2 separate regions of the Homo sapiens genome follow, and region 1 is linked to region 2. Evidence: promoter capture Hi-C in human tissues and cell types (Jung and others, 2019). All regions are on one chromosome and are shown on one strand. The core of a region is centred on a gene start or on the middle of the fragment in contact, and the rest is flanking DNA. Distances in the headings are between cores, read along the strand shown. Region 1 holds the start of NPM3 (nucleophosmin/nucleoplasmin 3). Region 2 overlaps FBXW4 (F-box and WD repeat domain containing 4).

What was found. Contacts are between HindIII fragments. The study calls those that stand out against the background at their distance.
Region 1: a contact is called between the fragment with the promoter of NPM3 here and a fragment that was not itself captured in region 2, in 4 of the 25 tissues and cell types used here (bladder, dorsolateral prefrontal cortex, hippocampus and 1 more).

What each region holds. Positions count from the first base shown.
Region 1 is chr10:101,780,535-101,784,745 of GRCh38, reverse strand. NPM3 (nucleophosmin/nucleoplasmin 3) reads left to right here and starts at 1,300. Exons shown (of 6, transcript NM_006993.3): 1 at 1,300-1,473; 2 at 1,822-1,907; 3 at 2,149-2,268; 4 at 2,395-2,488; 5 at 2,892-3,019; 6 at 3,114-3,421. The coding sequence starts at 1,356. The coding sequence ends at 3,010. OGA (O-GlcNAcase) reads left to right here. Exons shown (of 16, transcript NM_012215.5): 16 at 1-296. RefSeq lists enhancers at 1,733-2,372, 3,300-3,594, 3,473-4,211, 4,171-4,211 and a promoter at 3,440-4,211. The HindIII fragment of the contact is 4,177 bases long and covers 263-4,211 here.
Region 2 is chr10:101,686,685-101,691,533 of GRCh38, reverse strand. All of the region lies in intron 1 of FBXW4 (F-box and WD repeat domain containing 4), which reads left to right. Among named protein-coding and RNA genes, the nearest start is that of FBXW4, 6.1 kb to the left of the region's middle. The HindIII fragment of the contact is 4,070 bases long and covers 1-3,407 here.

The DNA.
Region 1 (4,211 bases), core at 51-2,550, 93 kb before region 2:
TGTTTGGAGGATTTCAGAGTTAACCTCATGGAATTCAGGATTTTTTAGCAAGTTTGCTTTTGGTTTTATCTTGGCTTTTAGTAATCATGTTGGCTGGTCTGGTCACAGGTGACTGTGAAACAGATGCCCTGGTCTTGCTTTCATCACTCTAGGATCATGAAGTGCTATGCTATTTCCTGGTTATGAATATTAAGGTTGGAATTACATTTTTATTGATTGTTTGGATCAGAGCTCAGTTCCTGTAGAAAACGAACTGTAAAAGACCATGCAAGAGGCAAAATAAAACTTGAAGTGAATGCTTGTCGTGTTGTATTGTGTGAATCTATTTCCTGTCTGCCCCCTCCCTTTTCTCCTCTTTCATGCCTCACCTACAAGCAGGTATTCTCTCCTCTCCACAGCTGTTCCAAGTTAGAGATTGGATCTTGAAGGCAGCCCTCCCCTACCTCCATCACCAGTAAGACTTCCAGATTTTCATTAAGACAAGAGCTAAGAAAAGTAGACTAGTTTTTAGCCAAGCCACCCCACCCTCTTGCCACAGTTATAACCTGGATGTGAAATAGGGCCTCTAGTTTGAGTTTTGCCATCTATTAGGATAGAAAGCACACAGTTTGCCTGATTCTTAAAAGGCGAAAGATGGCGCGAGTAGCATAAACTGACAAAATAATCCACGGCGCAAAGATACTCCTGGATGATTTGGAATTAAAAGCTCAAAAAGCGTGGGTGGGCCAGGAACAGCCAACACACATGAGCTAACTAGTCCTCTGCTAGCAAGTGCCAGCAGCTAAGTCTCAGTGAAGGCATAGCAAGTTGCGGGGTCTTTAGAGCAGGAAGAATTAAGAGAGGCTTAGCCGAGAGGACAGACAGGACAGACGTGTTGGGATGGAAATTCCTAAGGCTCCTCGGCTCTCTTGAGGCAAAGACAATCTGAGTGCATTTCCTTTGCTTGTAGCAGAAAAGCACTGCCCTGAACCCCACCTTTGCTGGGAGGAGTAAGAAGGGTTTACATTTTTATATCTATAACTCCTTTAACGAAAGCTTACCCTGGGTTGGAAGAGTGGGAGACACTCTTCCGACACAGAGCGAGGAGCTTGGGGAAGTGGACACCCTCATGGTCGTGGAAATGAGCAAGGATGTTAACATAAACCCCAAATCCATTCTTCTGTGATGTTACTTCCTTTCTCTTCGGTCTTGATAAAATATGAGCAGAAGCTGCGGGCTCCGGGTAGGGCTGCGGGGTCTCGGCGCCTTTTCTTTTCCAGGACTGTGCGTCTCCTTTAATGGGCGGGGCCGGAACTGGCCGAGGGTCCCCGGCTTTGTGCGTGTCGGGGGCGGAGTTTGAAGAAGGCTCTTACAGCATGGCCGCCGGTACTGCAGCTGCCTTAGCGTTTTTGAGTCAGGAGAGCCGAACGCGGGCCGGGGGTGTCGGGGGCCTACGGGTCCCGGCCCCGGTCACTATGGACAGTTTTTTCTTCGGTATTAGTGAAGGGAGAGGCTGAGGGTGGTACTGGGGCGGTAAGAGGTAGGGATGTGAGGCGGGAATGCGGAGGGTTTCAAGGCGTGGGTGTGGGCGGAGGGCTGCTTCGCTGTTCCCGCAGGAGAGGGGGCCTCGCACGCACAGCCAAAGGGGGTGGCGAGATCCCTGCCCCAGATGTGTTGGGCGGGGCCCACGGCAGAGCGTCCCAGGTGTTCTGAGAGAAGAGACGGAGGTGGACGTGTAAATGACCCGTCCGCCCAAGGTTACACGTGACGGCGGGTTGGTGACATCCCCCGCTGCCCAGCCCCGTACACACGCTCAGGCATACTCACTGTTATTTCTACCAGGCTGTGAGCTCTCCGGCCACACCCGCTCCTTCACCTTTAAGGTAGAGGAAGAGGATGATGCGGAGCACGTGCTGGCACTAACCATGGTGAGGGGCAGGGGAGTGGGGTTTTAATGAATAAGCCCAGGCAGGCAATATAGGTCTCTACCCAACCTCCGGATCCCCTTTACTTGGAGACACATCCTCAGCCTAACCCCCCGGCATGGGCGGCTCCCCTGGCCAGGTGAACCGGGACCTCTGAGGCTGGGCAGGTGCTAGGGTAGATGCCTTTAGTTGTGGTGTCAACCCTCACTTGAGGAGACCCTGAGGCCCTGTGTACCGTTCCCAGCTCTGCCTCACCGAGGGAGCCAAAGACGAGTGTAATGTGGTAGAAGTTGTGGCCCGGAACCATGACCATCAGGAGATCGCAGTCCCTGTGGCCAACCTCAAGCTGTCCTGCCAACCCATGGTGAGTTCCCCAGCTCTGCCTTGGTGGTGGTGGTGGTGGTGGTGAGGGGATTGAGGACGTTAGCACTCATTACAGTGTGGGGTGGGCTAGGAGTGGGCCAGGCCTTCATCCTTGTCTTCCTCCCAGCTCAGTCTGGATGACTTCCAGCTCCAACCACCTGTAACCTTCCGCCTGAAGTCGGGCTCTGGCCCTGTGCGGATCACTGGGCGGCACCAGATTGGTGAGAAGAGGGGAGGGCCCTCTCCTTTGCTTCCAGTGGACTCTCCCATCAGGCTTCCCCCACTCCGCACTCCTGCCCCATCCCACCCTCATCTCCCAGTGCAGCCCTGTACAGGTCTGTGTGCCCTCCACGCTGTGCCCTGTGCATGACATGCCCTCTCCTTTCCGTCTACTCAAGCCTACCTCCTCCATGGAACATGGCCCAACTTCTCCAGCTCCAATAATGAAGACTCCTTTGGCTCTTTGTGACCCAGTTTAGGGTCTGAGGTTCTTCCCACCTAGCCCATAAGCACTGGGAGGTCATGGTCCCTGTAAGCCTAACACCACGGCGTGAAGAAATGGCATGCGGTGTGAAACGGTCTGGTCTTAACACCCCATCCTTCTACTGCTTGTGTGTCCACCAGTTACGATGAGCAATGATGTTTCTGAGGAGGAGAGCGAGGAAGAGGAAGAGGACAGTGATGAGGAAGAAGTTGAGCTGTGCCCCATCCTTCCTGCCAAAAAGCAGGGGGGCAGGCCCTAGCCCTCCTAGGTGAGTTGCGGGGAGAAGTGCCTAGCAGGCTCTGGGAAGGGGCAGGAGAAGCAGGTGAGGGCCTAAATGCTGATTCCTTGTTTCCTCTTTTCAGGTCAGCTCCATGTGCCATGCACCGCCATGCACCCTGTTCCCTGACAAGTTTCAACAATTGTAAATATTTCTTCCTTGAAGAGGAGAGCTTGGGTGGGGGTTGGGTGGGAGGGACTTGGGTCTTTGGTGCTAGGAGAGGGCCTGTGCTCCACACAGCCGTGGTTTTCTGATTTTCACCATGCCCGGGGCCTCCCTTCCCACCTGCCTGTGAGAATTGGAGGTTAGTGCCTGAAGCTCAGAGCTACACATTTTTAATAGTTTTTACATTTTTGGATAAAGGTTGAAATAAAGTGGTGTGGAGTTTTTGCAGCTCTTGTGTGGCTTCTTCCTGTGCTGGGTGATGTTTCCCTAGGGACCGCCAGGTGGCACTGTGGAAGCACCCAGCGTGGCCCTGGGCCTGGGGGAGGGTGGAGAACTGTGGGATCCTCTACCCTCATGGCCCTGGGCTAGGACCTGGGGCCTGGGCCCCAGTTGCCTTGCTGGAAGGGGACCTCCCAACACTCAGCCCATTCCCAGTCTCTGCAGGTGGGAGAGGGTCATCGCAGGAGGTTATCAGCATCCAAACAAGGGGTCTGGGCCTCTGTCAGCACTCGGCTGATGGGCAGGGGGGCAGATAAGCGAGCTTAGGCAGCCTGAGGAATGCGCGTCCCTAGCCCCACGAGGGTCTCTGGCCCAGAGAGGGCCTGTGAGGGCAGGGCGGGACCAGGCTTCGCTCCTCCTTTGAGCCTTGCAGGCTGTCTCTGAGCAGGGCTGGGCCCTTAGAGAAACCTGACTCCGGGGGCCAGATGGAGGGGACTGGCCAGATTGGGTGACAGGGAAACCAGAATCCGGGTGGCCTGGCATATGGGGGCAGAAAGGGGCCCCAGGGAATTTGCCTCCTGGACTAAGGGATTCTTGTCCCCCACACACCGTGGGGTCTGGGGGTCTTTGGTGCCTGGAATCAGGTAGTTCTGGCACTTGGCTGCCTTTGTGCCAGGAAGAACTGACACACCTGGTTTGAGGATGAGTGTATGTGACCAGCTCTGGGGTCAGCAGTTCAGCAGCTGTGTTGGTTGTGGGGGGAGGGTTGTCAATGCCCACAAACAAACAAACAAACAAA
Region 2 (4,849 bases), core at 123-2,622:
ATTGCCAAATGATATGGCTTTATTATTTATTAGACATGTGTGTTTTGATTTCTCGCCCATGTCCTAGGGTAAGGTGTCCTGGCCTTCTAGGGAAGTTATTTTGCCATAGCACTTGATAAAGAGCAGGGTCACTGCTCGGGTTTTCTGGATTGAGGGAAGAAGTTATGCGTGTTACAGCAGGTGGAGAGAATGTTTACCAGTGTGGTCCGTTTCTGGACAGCTGCAGAGACTTAATAAGCCACTGAGAGAGGTGGTTGTCATCCCTGGAGGGAGAAGGCATGCACCCCAGTCCACTTAGGGAGTCAGCGAACCCGGGCCCAAAGTACAGCAAGAGTATGGCTGCTTGGATAGTGGCAGGGCTGTCGTTCATTGCTTTGGGCTAATTAACTGCAGACTAGATAAGTGAGATGAGTTTTTATCAGCATTACACAAAACTTGATTTGACCAGAAGCCACATAACCTCACTGGCCCTAGGTTTTATTACCTATAAAGAATGGGAATAACCTTGCCTGGTAAAATGAGGCTTAAGTGTAGAATGCTGGCTAGTACAGCATTAAGCACATAGTAAGCACACAATAAATTGTAAAACGGAACTTTTTAATTGTTTGGGTTCTCCTCTAGTTAGTCTGTATATAGCAAAAGTGGGGATGGTTTGACTTAGAGGTGCTGACTAAAGACAAAGGGAAGAACACGCACACACACGCACTGTGCTTCGTTTCTCTCACCTGTCCTGAATGTTTTTGGAAACATGACAGCAGAACCTGTGGACTTATGGCCTGCACTCCGGGACGAAGAGCCTCTTGATTCTCAGAAACACAAACTGCTAAGGTTTACTGACCTTCCGGCCCAGGGCAAGTCCCATTCAGTTTGGCTGTTCCTAACTGATCATAGCTTTGTTGAGTAAGATGAACTGCTTTGGTTCCTTGTGATTTGCTAATGGTCTTATACTTGTGCTTGAAGGCATTCTGGCCACTTTAAAACCACAAACAAATAATTTGCTTCCCTTTAGGCCTCTTGCCCGAACAGTGAACACTAATAGATATCCTAAGCTTACTTTTCTTTTTTTTTTAAAGGGACACAAAGATAGTTGGAGTCAGTCATCTGATTTAAAATCAGTTTTGTTTGGAGATTTTATGAAGCCTGTTGGAATAGAAATATCCTGAATATAACAATAAAAATCAAAGAAATGTTTCATATAGCAGTCTTTCAAATTTTCCCTAAAGAGTAAGAGGACAAACTAACCTAGTTCCGTTTACAAGAACAAGACAGTGGAATTCAGCTGTCACTTGATAATGTAGACTGAATGCAAGAAGTAGACATTATGACAGGGGAAGAACAGGAGCGCTATCTGCAAATTCTGATACTGAAAATTAACAAACGCAAATAATGGAAAGAAAAAGTACATCTGTGCATGTAAAGCTATTTTTAAAAGATTCTATTGCCAGTCTTATGTTAAAGAAAGCTTACTTGATCCTCTTCCTCCCGAATTAAGTGCTACATATTCTCAAATAGGAATTTTATTTTAAATAGCCTTTGAGCAGTACCTGGGTGCTGTCTTGCATTTGCCTATGATAGATTTGCCTGGAATTAACAATAGGTGTTTAGGGAGTGAGGCTCCTGAGGTGTTTGTCCTGGCATGTACATTCATTCCTGTGGAGGGGTCCTGTAGCCTTGGAGCTCTTTGAGGCTGGGGGCCTGGGGTATCTATTTCAGTGATGATTAACGTCCAGAGTGGTGAGATAGACACAGATAAGCAGAGTGTGTTTATTTGTTTTAAAATGATTGTGCCTAAGAGCATTTTCTTGACCCAGAAAGCATATAGTTTCCTAACCAGTTTCCTAACCCTGAATGGAGATGGTATTGCTAACTGGTTACATTTAAGGCCTAAACTGTGATCTTCAGAAAACAATTAACAACTCAAAGTAGCTTAGGCTTTCTCCAGTTTTCTGCCTTACCCAGGGAGGACAGTCACTTATTTGTTCTGTAATTCACGGAATGATTTCGAATATGGATGTATTTATTGTCTTCGGCGTTTGGAAAGGCCTTATTTTTAATGGTTTCTATGAGTTAATAAAATAGAGTTTAGTTTACAGGTTCAAAATAAAACAGTACACCTGTGGAAGCAGGACATGGTCTAGTGCAATCACTACCTCCAAATGCGAACTGGAAGAATGGAAGAAGCCTTCTCTAAGACCATGAGAATACAGAAGCTGTTTATATCCTTTCCAGTCTTGTAAAACTTGAATGGTAGGGGCTGAATTTTCTAGCTTTCAAGGCAGAAACATGGAGAAACCCAATGTCTTCACAGTCTGTGAGATGAGCAATCTGTAGTATGAGTTCATACTGGAATGAGAGCTCTGAAAATATTTCGGTACTCCATACTTTCATTTTTTTTTTTTGCACCTGGAACCTTCATCTAAGGTAAAGATTGTGCTTGAGCTGCTGAAATCCCCAACTGACAGTGAGGTCACTGAGGAAGTATACAGGTTTTTTAAAAAATTATTTTTGAATGTGTGACTTAGAAAAGAATTACGTGTGTGTGACAACTTAACCTTAGCTCTGGGTTGACCCTGGCACTGGATTAGTTTCTGGTCCTGACTTGTAACCATGGAACTGGGAGAAATTTAGGCAGATTCTTATTGAGACCAGGCTCCAAAAATATTTGAAAATTAAGATGAGATCAACTGTTTGAAAAAAAGAGGAGAAAATTGGGTTTTGAATTTTCAGTGAAAATTGGCAGACTCCCTTCTTTGATCTGCAGAAACTGACTTTTGCTAAGCTTCAGAATTTACCTCAGGTGTGTCAACCATGAGTCAAGGTTGAGAATCCAAAGATTTGGTTTACCCTTGAGGAAAGTCCTTCCTATTCAGTAGTCTTGCTCAGATGGAACTCCAATTGTAATCAATTGAATCAAAATGGTTATGGTAATTAAGAATATGTTTATGTACCCTGAATCATGTAAATATTTGAGCTTTCTCTAAAAATGAGTATGAGACTATCTGGAGAAAGAATTTATCTCCTGTTAGAGGTTTGGCTGCCTTGTCTCAATTTTGAGTCATTTCTTCATTTTATCCAAACTGTCCACATTGCCCTCCCTGGAAGTCTGGGCCACCCAATGGGCCCCTGTGCCTGCCGCCCCTCTTTAGCCCACAATTAATTGCCAGCACATTCTTTCTTCTTCCTCTTCTTTTTTGGTATTTGACATGAGCTCAAATTGCTGAGAAAGGTGACAACTGTGAAATGAAGACAGGGCTTGGAGACACCTTAAAAAATACATGCAAAGGCCACTAAATGACAAGAGCAGACTGCCAGGCTCTTTCAAAACATCACCACGTCTGTTGACTTTCCATTCCTTGTCCACAGCACAAAATTGGAGGTCAAAGAATCATAGGAGTTAGAGATGGAAAAGACATTTGGGGTCAGCCAGTTCATTCCTCTGCCTTCTCCTGCCCCTGATTTCAAATCATTCCTTACATTATATTTTCTCCCCCAGCTCTTGTACAGTTTTCACGGTCTTCACTCAACCCTGGCTGTCACCTTTGGGGAATGATGCTGGAGGTTGTCTCCAGTTTCTCCTCAGCAAAGAGAGATATTGCCTGTGCCCCCAGTTGACATTCATGGACTTCTTTGTTGGTGGTCTCAGCTGAGAGGCTGAAGGATAACTGGATGCTTCTCTGTTGCCTGGTGATGGGGTGTTTTTAGACAGAATTGAAGAGCATTTAGTGTATGATGATATTGGGCAAGGGATATTGGGCAAGGGCTGGGGTGTAGGGTAGCCATTGATGAATTTGTTCCTAGACTTTTGTTGTTCAAGTCTCTTGACCTGGAGGGGGATTCGTATTTGTATGAAGTGTGTGGTATTGGGACAGGTGGGCAGGGATGGGAAATTATAGTGAATAGGAGTTTGATAGGAACCCTAACTTGGAGATTGGTAGATTAAACAAATAAGAAATACTGGTCTTGTGAGGTGGTAGAGGATTGTTTTAATAGTTACATGTTAGGGGAGAAATAGAGTGGTGGTTACTGTACAGAAGCTTCAGTTTGGAGTCATATTGAGGAGAACAGATGGGCCGGAAGCAAGTATTTTGGATTAGGGTACGCTGTTGATTTTGTGGTCTCCCCTTGCTTTAAGAAAGTAGAGAAAGAGAAGTCTTATGCTCACTGGCTGTGTGGGTTGGAAGGGGGAATGGTCATTTTTAGAGGCAGCTTTGGAGGGATACCCCCAGCTCTCCTGTCTTTTTCCAGCAGCTGTTGGGAGCAGTCCGAAGGGGGTATTATATTTCTTCTGGTAACTCTGCCAAGAATGAGAGGAAATCCACAATCTGTGGGTTTTGTAGGGGGGATGAGGATGGGGTGGCAGGTGATGGGACAGGGAAATTAAATTGTTTTATAGTAAATATGTTGAGATACTTTTCCTGGAAAGCTGTTTCACTGAAAGGAATGATATTTCCCCTGCTCACTAACCCTGTAATGAGTTCATTCTCCTTAAAGAAAAGGAAATAGTCTTTGAGTACTTCTTTTCCTTTTTTCCCTGTAGTTCCAGCTTTGACCTCCCATGTTTCTTTGAGTTTTCCTTTAGAAAGTCTACATCAAAAAGTTGAATCAAGGTTCAGATATGGGTGGTATGTGTGTTTGTCCCCTCCAGAAGTGAGTTGCTAAGGGAGAACTTCATCCCTTATCTTGGATGCAGTTTGACTTTATCATAATGGCCTAGAAGCTGGAGATGTAAAAACTTGCTGGGTGACGTCTGGTTCATATTCTCCTCATCCCTTCATTCAGGCTGGAAGGTCACCAGGGATTTTGAAGTCTGGTCACTTGGGTTGAGAACCTGTTTTGATGATTAATATAG